Linked DNA regions of Homo sapiens: region 1 is linked to region 2. Evidence: promoter capture Hi-C in 16 types of primary human blood cells and fetal thymus (Javierre and others, 2016). All regions are on one chromosome and are shown on one strand. Each heading gives the region's core, a stretch centred on a gene start or on the middle of the fragment in contact. The rest is flanking DNA. Distances are from core to core; before and after follow the strand shown. Region 1 overlaps OTOG (otogelin). Region 2 holds the start of MYOD1 (myogenic differentiation 1).

The links. The method cuts DNA at HindIII sites, captures the fragments that hold promoters and counts their contacts. A CHiCAGO score of 5 or more calls a contact.
Region 1: a fragment that was not itself captured here is called in contact with the fragment with the promoter of MYOD1 in region 2 in 1 of 17 cell types (endothelial precursors); the score reaches 5.2 in endothelial precursors.

Annotation. Positions count from the first base shown.
Region 1 is chr11:17,618,247-17,624,809 of GRCh38, forward strand. The region is part of intron 39 of OTOG (otogelin); the gene reads left to right. Among named protein-coding and RNA genes, the nearest start is that of OTOG, 74 kb to the left of the region's middle. The HindIII fragment of the contact is 299 bases long and covers 3,041-3,339 here.
Region 2 is chr11:17,716,579-17,723,262 of GRCh38, forward strand. MYOD1 (myogenic differentiation 1) reads left to right here and starts at 2,993. Exons shown (of 3, transcript NM_002478.5): 1 at 2,993-3,834; 2 at 4,324-4,402; 3 at 4,677-5,558. The coding sequence starts at 3,205. The coding sequence ends at 4,930. RefSeq lists enhancers at 3,942-4,453, 4,454-4,965. The HindIII fragment of the contact is 6,670 bases long and covers 2,475-6,684 here.

The sequences.
Region 1 (6,563 bases), core at 1,940-4,439, 98 kb before region 2:
ATTGATTTAACTGCATCCTACAAGTTTTGATATGCTATGTTTTCTTTTTCAATCAGTTCAAAATACTTTTAAATATCCCTTTTGATTTTTATTTGACCCATGAATTAAGGGTTTTGTTTAATCTTCAAATATTTTATGATTTTCCAGATGCCTTTCTGTTACAGATTTCTAATTTAATTTCATTGTGTTCATAAGACATAATTTGTCTAACTTGAATTCTTTTACATTTAGTAAGATTTATTTTATGTCCGAGAATATGCTCTAAGTAAGTGTGTATTTTATTATTGGGTGGAGTGTTCTATGAATGTTAATTAGGTCAAATTGGCTGATAGTGTTGTTCAAGCCTTCTAAATTCTTACTAATTTTCTATCTGTTTATTCTCAGTTACTGAGAGAATGTTGAAATATCTGACTGTAATTGTTTATTTGTCTATTTCTCTTTGGAGTTTTATCAGTTTTTTTATTCACATATATTGAAATTCTGTTATTTAGGTGCATAACATGCAGGATTGTTATGTCCTTTTGATGAATTAACTCTTTTATTCTTAGGAAATGGCCATTTTATCCTGGTAAAACTCTTTGTTCTGAATTCCACTTTGTCTGACTTGCCTGTAATAACTTCTCCAGCTTTGTTTTGATTGGTTTTAGCGTGTATACCTAATATGTATATCTAAGATGTATCTTTTTTAATCCTTTTACTTTAACCTGTTTGTGGCTTTTTATTTAAAGTGGGATTTTTGGCCGGCATGTAGGCTCATGCCTGTAATTTCACTTTGGGAGGTTGAAGCAGGTGGACTGCTTGAGCCCAGGAGTTCGAGACCAGCCTGGGCAATATGGCAAAACACAATCCCTACTAAAAATATATATATTAAAAAATTAGCCAAGCATGGTGGCACATGCCTGTAGTTCCAGCTATGCAGGAGGCTGAGGTGGGAGAATCACCTGGGCCCAGGAAGTTGAGGCTGCAGTGAGCCGTGATTGCACGACTGCACTCCAGCCTGGGTGACAGGAGTGAGGCCCTGTCTCAACAAACAAACAAACAAATAAAAGTGGGACTTTTGCAGGGGGTAAATAGTTGAGCCTTCAGTTTTTAAAGATCCAATCTGACAATCTCTTCCTTTTAATTGGGGATGTTTATACCATTTATGTTTAATTTGGTCCTCAACATAGTGATGTTTATATATTGTTGCTATTTATTTTCTATTTGTGACATCTGTTCTTTGTTCCCTCCTTCCTTTTTTTGCCTTCTTTGGATTGTTTTTAATGACTCCATTTCATCTCCAATGTTGGATTATTGTCTGTACTTTTTTTTTCTCCTTCAGTGGTTGCTTTAGATATTACAGTATGTAATTTTACTTTGTCACAGACTAGCTACAAATAATATTATATTGCATCATATATACCATAAGAACTTTATAACAGTATACTGCTATTTCCTTTCACCAAGCCTTTGTGTTATTGTCATAAAATTTACTTCTATAATTATTATAAACTCCACAGTAAATTGTTATTATTTTTCCTTAAGCAGTTATCTTCTAAAGAGATTTTTAAAACAAGGAAAGTTTATATTTAACCACATATTTACCATTTTGTGCTTTTTATTCCTTTGTGTAAATCTAGATTTGCATCTGGTATCATTTTTCTTCTGCTCGAAAGACTTCCTTTAACACTTATGTAGTACAGATCTACTGGTGATAAATTCTTTCAGCTTTTGTTTGTCAGAAAAAGTCTTGGTCTTTCCTTCATTTTTAAGAGATACTTTCACTGGGTATAGAATTATAGGCTGATATTTTTTTCTTTCAGTACTTTATAAGACGTTGCTCCTGTCTTTTTTTTATTGAGGAGAAATTGACAAAACATAAAATTAAGCATTTTAAAGTGAACAATTCAATGGCATTTAGTACATTCACAATATTGTGCAACCATTGCCTCTGTATAGCTCCAAAACATTTTCATCACCCCAAAAGGCAACCCCATACCCATTAAGCAGTTTCTTCATAGTCACCTCTCCCCACAGCCCCTGCCAACTACCAATCTGCCTGTTGCCTCTGGATTTACCTATTCTGAATATTTCATATAAGTGGAGTCAGACAATATCTGACCTTTTGTGTCTGGCTTCTTTTACTGAGCTCCATGTTTTGGGGGTTCATCCACATTGAAGCATGTATCAATGCTTCATTTATTTTTATGGCTGGAATAATATTCCATTGTATGTATATACCACAGTTTGTTTATCCATTCATTATTGATGGGCATTTAAGCTATTTCCATATTTTTGGCTATTTTGAATAGTGCTGTTATGAAGTTCCACTATCTTTTATCTTGCTTATTTCTGGTAAGAAATCTGCTGTCATTCTTTGTTCCTTCATACATAATGTAGTTTTTTTCTACCCCTTTTTGCTGCTTTTATGATTTTCCTTCTATAGTTGTTTTTAAGCAATTTGGTTATGATAGGCCTGGTAATTCATTTCTCTTTTGGGGACTTCAATTACATGTGTTTTAGGATACTTGAAGTGGACCCACAGATCACTTATGCTCTCTGCTCATCATTCTCTTGGGTCTTTTTTAATTCTGTGCTTCATTTCAGATAGTATTTATTGCTCTAAGTTCATTAATCTTTTCATTTATAGTGTCTAAACATATTAATTCCATTCAGTGGTTTTCATCTCAGACATGATATTTTTCATCTGCACAAGTTTGATTTGGGTCTTTTTATATCATGAACATCTCACCTTCTTCTGTTTTCCTCTATTTCTTGAGCACATATAGTTAAAACAATTTTAAAAATAATTGTTTGTATTTCCTTGTCTACCGTGTGTGTCATTTCTCAGTCAGTTCTGATTGATTTTTTCTTTCATTATAGGTTGTATTTTCCTGCTTCTTTGCATGCCTGACAATGTTTTTAAATTGAATTCCAGACATTGTGAGTTTTGCCTTGTTGGATGCTGGATATTCTTTCATTTTATTTTTGAAAATATTCTTGAGCTTTGTAGTAGTTATGCTACTTGGAAACAGTTTGATCCTTCTGAGGCTTGCCTTTAAGCTTTGTTAGGTAAAGCCAAAGTAGCCTTTATTCTGAGTGTGATTTTATTCTTTATCCTACATACCAATTCCCTGCTACTAAAGCAACACCCTTCTGCATACCCTACCCTATACTCTACATATTAGGAGGTTTTTCTACTATTCTCAGCCCTGTGCTAGCTCTGTGGATTTTTCTGTCTGTTTCTCTCAGGTGGTTCTTTCCCTAGTCTCAGGTAGTTTTCTCACCTGCATACATTGATCAATATTCAGCTGAAAATTCAGGACAGGGTCAGGACAGGGTTGGAGGGGGATTCTGCAAAGCTTCAGAGCTCTCTCTCTCTCTCTCTCTGTCTGCCATGCAAACTCTAGCTACCTTGGCCTTTGTGAATGTCTATCTCTTGTCTTCTAAACTCTAGGAAACCACCAGGCTCTACCTGGGTTCCTGCTCCCTGCACTGCAGCCCCTAAACTCTCTAAGTAATAACCTTGGACAATCATAAGGCTTGCCTCATTTGTTTCCATTTTTTGTTTTCAGGGATCACTCTCCTGCATTGCCAACTGTTCACGTTGGAAAACTGTTGTTTTATATATTTTGTCAGTTTGTTTGATCATTTAAGGCAAGAGGGTAAATCCAGTTCCTATTACTCCACCTTGGTTAGAAATGGAATTCTAAGTCCTTCGTTTTTAACCTTTTATTCTTTGTCCTTGCATGGAGTCCTATGAATGCAGGCGAGGCTCCTCTCTGGGCTTCAGGTATGTATGTTTACTCCCAGAACTCAGAGACTGCTCATGGATCATGAAGCCCAATCCTCTGTCTGTACAAATAGGAAGGCTCAGGCTAGGAGAGCCAGGGGCTTTCCTAGGGTCACAAAGTTTTCTTTGTGACTCCTGGGCTGAGGCTCCCTCTACATAATAGTTCATGTGCTGCATAATTTGCTGCATAAAACAGTCTAATCCTTTTTTAATTTTTAATTTTTATGGGTAGATAGTAGGTATATATATTTGTGGGGTACATAAGAGATTTTGACACAGGCATTCAATGTGTAATAATCACATCACGTAAAATGGGATATCCCTCCCCTCAAACATTTATCCTTTGTGTTACGAACAATCTAATTATATACTCATTTATTTATCTTTAAATGTATAATTAAATTACTATTGACTGTAGTCACCCTGTTGTGCTATCAAACACTAAGTCTTACTCATTCTTTTTAATTTTTCTTTTTACTCATTAATCATTCCCATCTCTTCCTCAACCCCTCCACTACCCTTCCCCTGTGTCCGTGAGTTCAATTGTCTTGGTTTTTAGATCCCACACTTGAGTGAGAACATGTTAGGTTTGTCTTTCTGTGCCTGCTTATTTCATTTAACATAATGACCTCCATTTTCACCCATGTTTTTGTAAATGACAGAATCTCATATTATTGTGGCTGAATAGTACTCCATTGTGTATAAGTACCACATTTTCTTTATCCATTCATCTGCTGATGGACATTTACATTGCTTCCAAATCTTAGCTATCGTGAACAGTGCTGCAACAAACATGGGAGTGCAGATATCACTTCGATATACGGATTTCCTTTCTTTTGGGTGTATACCCAGATTGCTGGATCATATGGTAGCTCTATTTTTAGTGTTTTGAGGAACCTCCAAACTGTTCTCCATAGTGGAGAACTAATTTACATTCCCACCAAAAGTGTGAGGGTTCCCTTTTCTCCACATCCTCACCAGCATTTGTTATTTCCTGTCTTTTGGATAAAAGCCATTTTAAGTGGAGCGAGATGATTTCTCATTATAGTTTTGATTTGCATTTCTCTGATGATCCATGTAAGAACATTTTCATATGCCTGTTTGCCATTTGGATGTCTTATTTTTTATTTTATTTTATAACTTTTAAGTTCAGGGGTACATGTGCAGGTTTCTTATATAGATAAACTCATATCGCAGGAGTTTGTTGTACAGATTATTTTGTCACCCAGGTATTAAGCCTAGTACTCATTAGTTATTTTTTGATATTCTCTTTCCTCCCACCTGACACCCTCCAGTACACCCCAGTATCTGTTGTTCCCCTCTACCTGTCCATGTGCTCTCATCATTTAGCTCCCACTTATCAGTGAGAACATGCAGTATTTGGTTTTCTGTTTTTGCATTAGTTTGCTAAGGATAATGGCCTCCATCTCCATCCATGTTTCTGCAGAGGACATGATCTCATTCTTTTTTATGGCTGCATAGTATTCCATGGTGTGTATATACTACATTTTCTTTATCCAGTCTACCATTGATGGACATTTAGGTTGATTCCATGTCTTTGCTATTGTGAGTAGTGCTACCATGAATATATGTGTGCAGGTGTGTTTATGATAGAATAATTTATATTCCTCTGGGTATATACCCAGTAATGGGATTGCTGGGTCAAATGGTAGTTGTGTTTTTAGGTCTTTGAGGAATCATCACACTGTTTTCCACAATGGTTGAACTAATTTATACTCTCACCAACAATGTGTAAGTGTTCCTTTTTCTCTACAACCTTGCTAGCACCTGTTATTTTTTGGCTTTTTAGTAATAGCCATTCTGACTGGTGTGAGATGGTATCTCATTGCTGTTTTGATTTGCATTTTTCTAATGATCAGTGATGTTGAGCTTTTTTCATATGCTTATTGGCTGAATGTATGTCTTCTCTTGAGAAGTGTCTGTTCATGTCCTTTGCCCAGTTTTTAATGGGGTAGTTTGTTTGTTGTTGTTTTCTTATAAATTTGTTTAAGTTCCTTATAGATACTGGATGTAAGATCTTTGTCAGATGTATAGTTTGCAAAAATTTTTCCCATTCTGTAGGTTATCTGTTTACTCTGTTGATAGTTTCTTTTGCTGTGTAGAAGCTCTTTAGTTTAATTAGATCCCATTTGTCAATTTTTGCTTTTGTTGCAATTTCTTTTGGTATCATTGCCATGAAATCTTTGCCGTTTCTGTGTCCAGAATGGTATTGCCTAGGTTATCTTCCATGATTTTTATAGTTTTGGCTCTTACATTTAAGTCTTTAATCTATCTTAAGTTAATATTTGTATATGGCGTAAGGAAGGGGTCCCATTTCAATCTTCTGCATATGGCTAGCCATTTATCCCAGTAGCATCTATTGAATAGAGAGTACTTTACCTATTGCTTGTTTTTGGTGACTTTGTAGAAGATCAGACAGCTGTAGGTGTCTGGCCTTATTTCTGGGCTCTGTATTCTGTTCCATTGGTCTATGTGCCTGTTCTTGTACCAGTACTATGCTGTTTTAGTTACTGTAGCCGTGAAGTATAGTTTGAAGTTGAGTAGCATGATGCCTCCAGCTTTGTTCTTTTTGCTTAGGATTGCCTTGGCTATTCGGGCTCATTTTTGGTTCCATATGAATTTTAAAATAGTTTTTTTTTCTAGTTCTGTGAAGAATGTCATTGGTAGTTTGATAGGAAGAGCATTGAATCTATCAATTGCTTTGGGCAGTATGGCCATTTTAACAATATTGATTCTCCCTATCAATGAGCATGGACAGTTTTTCCATTTG
Region 2 (6,684 bases), core at 1,743-4,242:
ATGCAAGAAGCTGCTGGGGAGTTTGAAGCAGGAGGATGGCATAATCCCATTTACATTGTAAAGGTCTACTCAGGCTGCTATGTAACGAATGGATTATACTGAGGCTACAGAGGAAGTGAGGAGGGCAGCCAGGTTATTGTGGTCATCCAGAGCAGCAGTGTGACAGCTTAGTCCAGGATGGTGACACTAGGGATGGACTGACTTGAGACAGGTCTTAGAGGTAGAATGGACAGCTCTTCCTCATACTCAGACCTCTCCTTGGGAACTCCAGCCTTAAAAATCCCCCTGCCTAATCCACACTTCCATCTGGATATCCGATATGCATTTCAAATTTTGCCCAAACCTGGACACTTAATCTACCACCCACAAACCTAGTCTTCTCAACTCCATTCTTGCAGGAGTCATCCTTAGCTCCTTGCTTATCTCACTTCCCACATGCAATCGTGAGTAAATACTGCTAGCTCCATCTTGAAAACATATATCTAGAATTCAACCACCACTTTTCACCAGCTCCACTCACTGGGATTATTGCAATAGCCTCCTAATTGGTCTCCCTCCTTCTGCCCTTTCCCTCCAGTAACCAGCATGCTCCTGTTAAAATGTAAATCAGATAGTGATATTCTTCTCTTCCGCTCAAGCCCTCCAGTGAGATGGCTCAAGCCATCTCAGAATATAATCCTGTTTCTCTCTCTCTCACCCCATTTCCCACTATCTCTTTTACTCACCCTGCTGCAGACATATGAGCCTCCTTGCCATACTTTGAATCTGCCAAACATGGTCCTGCCTCAGGACTTTTGCACATGCTTATCCCTCTATCTGGCCCTACATATCTCCAGGTATCTGCTTCCAATTCTCTTCATTCAGGTCTCTGCTTAAATGTAGCAGAGAGGCCTTCTCTAATCACTCCATAATCTTCATCACTGTGTCTCCCTGCCTTGCTTTTTCTTCATAAGGCTTCTAACCTCCTGGCATCACATACTTCCTTGCTTATTTGTTCATTGTCTATCACCCTGCTTACATTGACAATGTAAGTGCCATGTAAGCAGAGTCTTGGTTTTGTTCATTGCTCTAGCCCCACACTTGGACTGGTACCTGCCACATAATGGATACCTAACAATATGTGGATTTCCGGGTGACCCCCTGCAGCTTGGGTGGGGTGAGGCCAGGACTTTGCTGCCTCTGCCAGGATTTAGAGTTACTGTCACTGCTGCTCCATGATGTAGACTTTACTGAATGAACAAATACAGGTGGGCCCTATGGAGTAAAGCGAGGTGAGTACTTCATGAAGGGAGACCTTCAGCACCACTACCAGCAGCAGAGAAGTGAAGAAGTTAGGACCCCAACAGAGCCCTCTGAGTTTTGTGGGAAGGGAGGACTTCTTAGGGCCCAGAACGGCCAGCTAGAATGCCTTCCAGAAGTTAGTGGGAAAGGCACAAAGATCACTCCTGCTTAAATTTCTGGTTTCCAGGAGGGGAGATCCAGGCAGGGATGTATGGCCAACGGAGATTCCTAGCCAGAGTGCTGAGAGGACTGTGTGAACTGCAGATTCAGGAAGAGGCTGAGAGACCCCCATGGGGGTGGCCGGTATGCTGAGGCTTGTATGGGAGCCAGATATCCCACATCCCATGGGGTGGTTGCCTCCTCCTGTTTCCAGCCTTTCCAGTGAGGCTGCAGGAAAGAGACACAGCTAAGGCCTGGAGACTCGTGGCACTCCGTCAGGGCATGGTACCACAGATGAGTTGTAAGCCTGCGGGACACAGCATCCAACTCTGAAAGCCCCTTGCTCGAATAACCCTACATCACCGCCTGAGGGCTTCCATATCCTTGGTCTCTTCAGACTGTCATCCCCACCACAATTACTCCAAGAAATTACTGTCATCCCCAAATCTATAACTGGAAACTGAGGCTCAGGAAGGAGACATGACTTCCACAAAATCACACAGTTGGGAAACTCTGGAGTCTGCACTCAACTGGTCTGCAAACCGCACTCTCGGAGACTTCAGGTGAGATGAGGTCAGGTTCTCAGGCCAGGTCCTGAAGTTTGACACCTTGGCGAAATGCACTTTCCTTGACTCAGCACCGCGAGTGAGGCGGAGCCAAGCCCCGAGCAGAAGGGTTTTCTTCCCAGCTGAAGAGGCAGCTCAGCCTAGACCCCAGGCATGGCACTGGACACCCCTGCTGTGGAAACGTGCAGATTTAGATGGAGGGGATTCCTAACCTGGGCAGGATCCGAGTTTGGAGAGATTGGCGCGAAGCTTTAGCAGCAATCTCCGATTCCTGTACAACCATAGCTGGGTTTCTAAGCGTCTAGGGAAGAAGGACTGGGCCCACGACCTGCTGAGCAACTCCCAGGTCGGGGACTGGCGGAATATCAGAGCCTCTACGACCCGTTTGTCTCGGGCTCGCCCACTTCAACTCTCGGGGTCTCTCCGCCTGTTGTTGCACTCGTGCGTTTCTCTGCCCCTGACGCTCTAAGCTTTCTGCTTTCTGCGTGTCTCTCAGCCTCTTTCGGTCCCTCTTTCACGGTCTCACTCCTCAGCTCTGTGCCCCCAATGCCTTGCCTCTCTCCAAATCTCTCACGACCTGATTTCTACAGCCGCTCTACCCATGGGTCCCCCACAAATCAGGGGACAGAGGAGTATTGAAAGTCAGCTCAGAGGTGAGCGCGCGCAGCCAGCGTTTCCCGCGGATACAGCAGTCGGGTGTTGGAGAGGTTTGGAAAGGGCGTGCCGGAGAGCCAAGTGCAGCCGCCTAGGGCTGCCGGTCGCTCCCTCCCTCCCTGCCCGGTAGGGGACCTAGCGCGCACGCCAGTGTGGAGGGGCGGGCTGGCTGGCCAGTCTGCGGGCCCCTGCGGCCACCCCGGGGACCCCCCCAAGCCCCGCCCCGCAGTGTTCCTATTGGCCTCGGACTCCCCCTCCCCCAGCTGCCCGCCTGGGCTCCGGGGCGTTTAGGCTACTACGGATAAATAGCCCAGGGCGCCTGGCGAGAAGCTAGGGGTGAGGAAGCCCTGGGGCGCTGCCGCCGCTTTCCTTAACCACAAATCAGGCCGGACAGGAGAGGGAGGGGTGGGGGACAGTGGGTGGGCATTCAGACTGCCAGCACTTTGCTATCTACAGCCGGGGCTCCCGAGCGGCAGAAAGTTCCGGCCACTCTCTGCCGCTTGGGTTGGGCGAAGCCAGGACCGTGCCGCGCCACCGCCAGGATATGGAGCTACTGTCGCCACCGCTCCGCGACGTAGACCTGACGGCCCCCGACGGCTCTCTCTGCTCCTTTGCCACAACGGACGACTTCTATGACGACCCGTGTTTCGACTCCCCGGACCTGCGCTTCTTCGAAGACCTGGACCCGCGCCTGATGCACGTGGGCGCGCTCCTGAAACCCGAAGAGCACTCGCACTTCCCCGCGGCGGTGCACCCGGCCCCGGGCGCACGTGAGGACGAGCATGTGCGCGCGCCCAGCGGGCACCACCAGGCGGGCCGCTGCCTACTGTGGGCCTGCAAGGCGTGCAAGCGCAAGACCACCAACGCCGACCGCCGCAAGGCCGCCACCATGCGCGAGCGGCGCCGCCTGAGCAAAGTAAATGAGGCCTTTGAGACACTCAAGCGCTGCACGTCGAGCAATCCAAACCAGCGGTTGCCCAAGGTGGAGATCCTGCGCAACGCCATCCGCTATATCGAGGGCCTGCAGGCTCTGCTGCGCGACCAGGACGCCGCGCCCCCTGGCGCCGCAGCCGCCTTCTATGCGCCGGGCCCGCTGCCCCCGGGCCGCGGCGGCGAGCACTACAGCGGCGACTCCGACGCGTCCAGCCCGCGCTCCAACTGCTCCGACGGCATGGTAAGGCCGGGACCCCAGGAAGTGAGGAAGTTAGGGCGGCGCTCGGGATATCAGGGACGCGTTTCCGAGGGCGGGGAGCTGGCCTTGCGGGAGGTTTGGGCCAGGATCCTTCCCGAGAGAGAGGACCCCCTTGTCCTGGGCAGCTGTCACTGGGGTAGCCTGTTTTGGAAGTGTGCGGGCAAGCGTTCGAGCTGCCCCATTGGGGGCGCTATTAGAACACTGCAGCGCGAACGTGAAGATCTTTTTCTCTACTTATCCCTACTTCCAAAATGTAAATTTGCGCCCCTTGGTGACTGTCCGCCCTTGGTTTGGCCCTGCATGTTGCAGACCTCATCTCCTACCCACCCGTAATTACCCCCCCAACCAGGACAGGTCTGGGCCCGGAACTAGAGCCTTAGGCTAGAGTTAGGGAGGGGGCGGCTACAGGAATTGGTGTTCGGGCCTCGAGCCGTCCCGCGGGCCTGACTCAGTCGCCCTTGCTGTTTGCAGATGGACTACAGCGGCCCCCCGAGCGGCGCCCGGCGGCGGAACTGCTACGAAGGCGCCTACTACAACGAGGCGCCCAGCGGTGGGTATTCCGGGCCTCTCCCTGCTCGCTCCTCCTCCTTCATGGAGCTGTCCTGGCCTCTATCTAGGACGCTCCCACCCCCACTCACACACGCCTATGTCCTGGGAAGTGGTGCAGGAGATGAAATACTAAGCAAGTAGCTCCCTGTCTTTTGGATTGTCCCGGACTCTAACTAAAGTCCTCAGTTTCCAATCTGTCTCAAAGTACTGGGCCCGGGGGTGGGAGGCTTGTCGCGGCCCCACCCCTGCTTACTAACCGAGCCCTCCCCGCGCAGAACCCAGGCCCGGGAAGAGTGCGGCGGTGTCGAGCCTAGACTGCCTGTCCAGCATCGTGGAGCGCATCTCCACCGAGAGCCCTGCGGCGCCCGCCCTCCTGCTGGCGGACGTGCCTTCTGAGTCGCCTCCGCGCAGGCAAGAGGCTGCCGCCCCCAGCGAGGGAGAGAGCAGCGGCGACCCCACCCAGTCACCGGACGCCGCCCCGCAGTGCCCTGCGGGTGCGAACCCCAACCCGATATACCAGGTGCTCTGAGGGGATGGTGGCCGCCCACCCGCCCGAGGGATGGTGCCCCTAGGGTCCCTCGCGCCCAAAAGATTGAACTTAAATGCCCCCCTCCCAACAGCGCTTTAAAAGCGACCTCTCTTGAGGTAGGAGAGGCGGGAGAACTGAAGTTTCCGCCCCCGCCCCACAGGGCAAGGACACAGCGCGGTTTTTTCCACGCAGCACCCTTCTCGGAGACCCATTGCGATGGCCGCTCCGTGTTCCTCGGTGGGCCAGAGCTGAACCTTGAGGGGCTAGGTTCAGCTTTCTCGCGCCCTCCCCCATGGGGGTGAGACCCTCGCAGACCTAAGCCCTGCCCCGGGATGCACCGGTTATTTGGGGGGGCGTGAGACCCAGTGCACTCCGGTCCCAAATGTAGCAGGTGTAACCGTAACCCACCCCCAACCCGTTTCCCGGTTCAGGACCACTTTTTGTAATACTTTTGTAATCTATTCCTGTAAATAAGAGTTGCTTTGCCAGAGCAGGAGCCCCTGGGGCTGTATTTATCTCTGAGGCATGGTGTGTGGTGCTACAGGGAATTTGTACGTTTATACCGCAGGCGGGCGAGCCGCGGGCGCTCGCTCAGGTGATCAAAATAAAGGCGCTAATTTATACCGCCGTGGCTCCGGCTTTCCCTGGACATGGGTGTGGGATCCGGAGGAAAATCCGCAAACTGGGCCAGCTGTCCCTCAGCGACGCCTGTAGGCGGCAGGCGGATTGCAAGGAGGAAGCCTGCTGCCTGGGGAAGGAAGGAGGGGTGCAAATTTCTCCAGTACGTGAGGAAGTTCCTCTGACCTTGACTACATTACTACACACGTCCGTGGCTCTTATGGAAGGGTACACAGGTTGATATGAGTATTTTTTAAACCCATGTCTGAGCTCGCCCCCTAGATATTCTGATTTAATGTTTCTGCCCCATATACCCAGGGCCAGGTATTGGTATTTTTTTTCAAAAGCTCCCCAAGTGATTCTGAAGTTCATTCAAGGCTGAGAATCATCCCCTCCATATAAAGTGAGTGAACCCAGGTGTGATAACCAGAAGAACCACGGGAAGGTTGTGGCCCAGGCATCACTTGGGGGCCTCGTTGGGTATAGAGGATGTGATAGGGTGCCCACAGCATTCCGAGGAAGATCTAAATGAGTGTAGACATGTGCTGTAAGCTCTCTGGCACTTACAGCCCATTAGTAATAGGTGTAACTGCAAAGAGATAGCATAGAAGGCCAGACAGGCACAGACACCTCTACCCAGCACCTAGAGCATCCCGACACTATCAGATTCCATAAGACAACAGGAGCCCGGATCCTGTGAGCAGAGCGGCATGTGGGCCAGCATCATCACAGATGGCATAGGTACTCTTCATCAGGCTATAAACTCTCTGAGAGCAGAGGAGGGGGCATTTATTTAGCCTGAGTGTTGGGGAGGGCTTCCCGGAAGAGTTGTCATTTGAGCTCTGTCTTAAGAAACAAGAGTAGACAATGTACTCACAATGCACACACACACACACGCACACACACACACACAGGTACCTGTGCCCTCCCCTGGGTCCAAGGCCCCTGAGGGATGGTCTGGCAAGGGTTCTTCCCCACTCACTTACCACCTCCCCACCCCCAACACACGCGTGCCATGAGGACCTCAGGACCTCCTACATCCCACCCCATATATGTTGTTCCTGAAAACCCTACAGGCCCACTTTCAAGGGTTTTGTTTGCCAAGTAGGGGGCCCTCAGGAATGCAGGCAAGATGT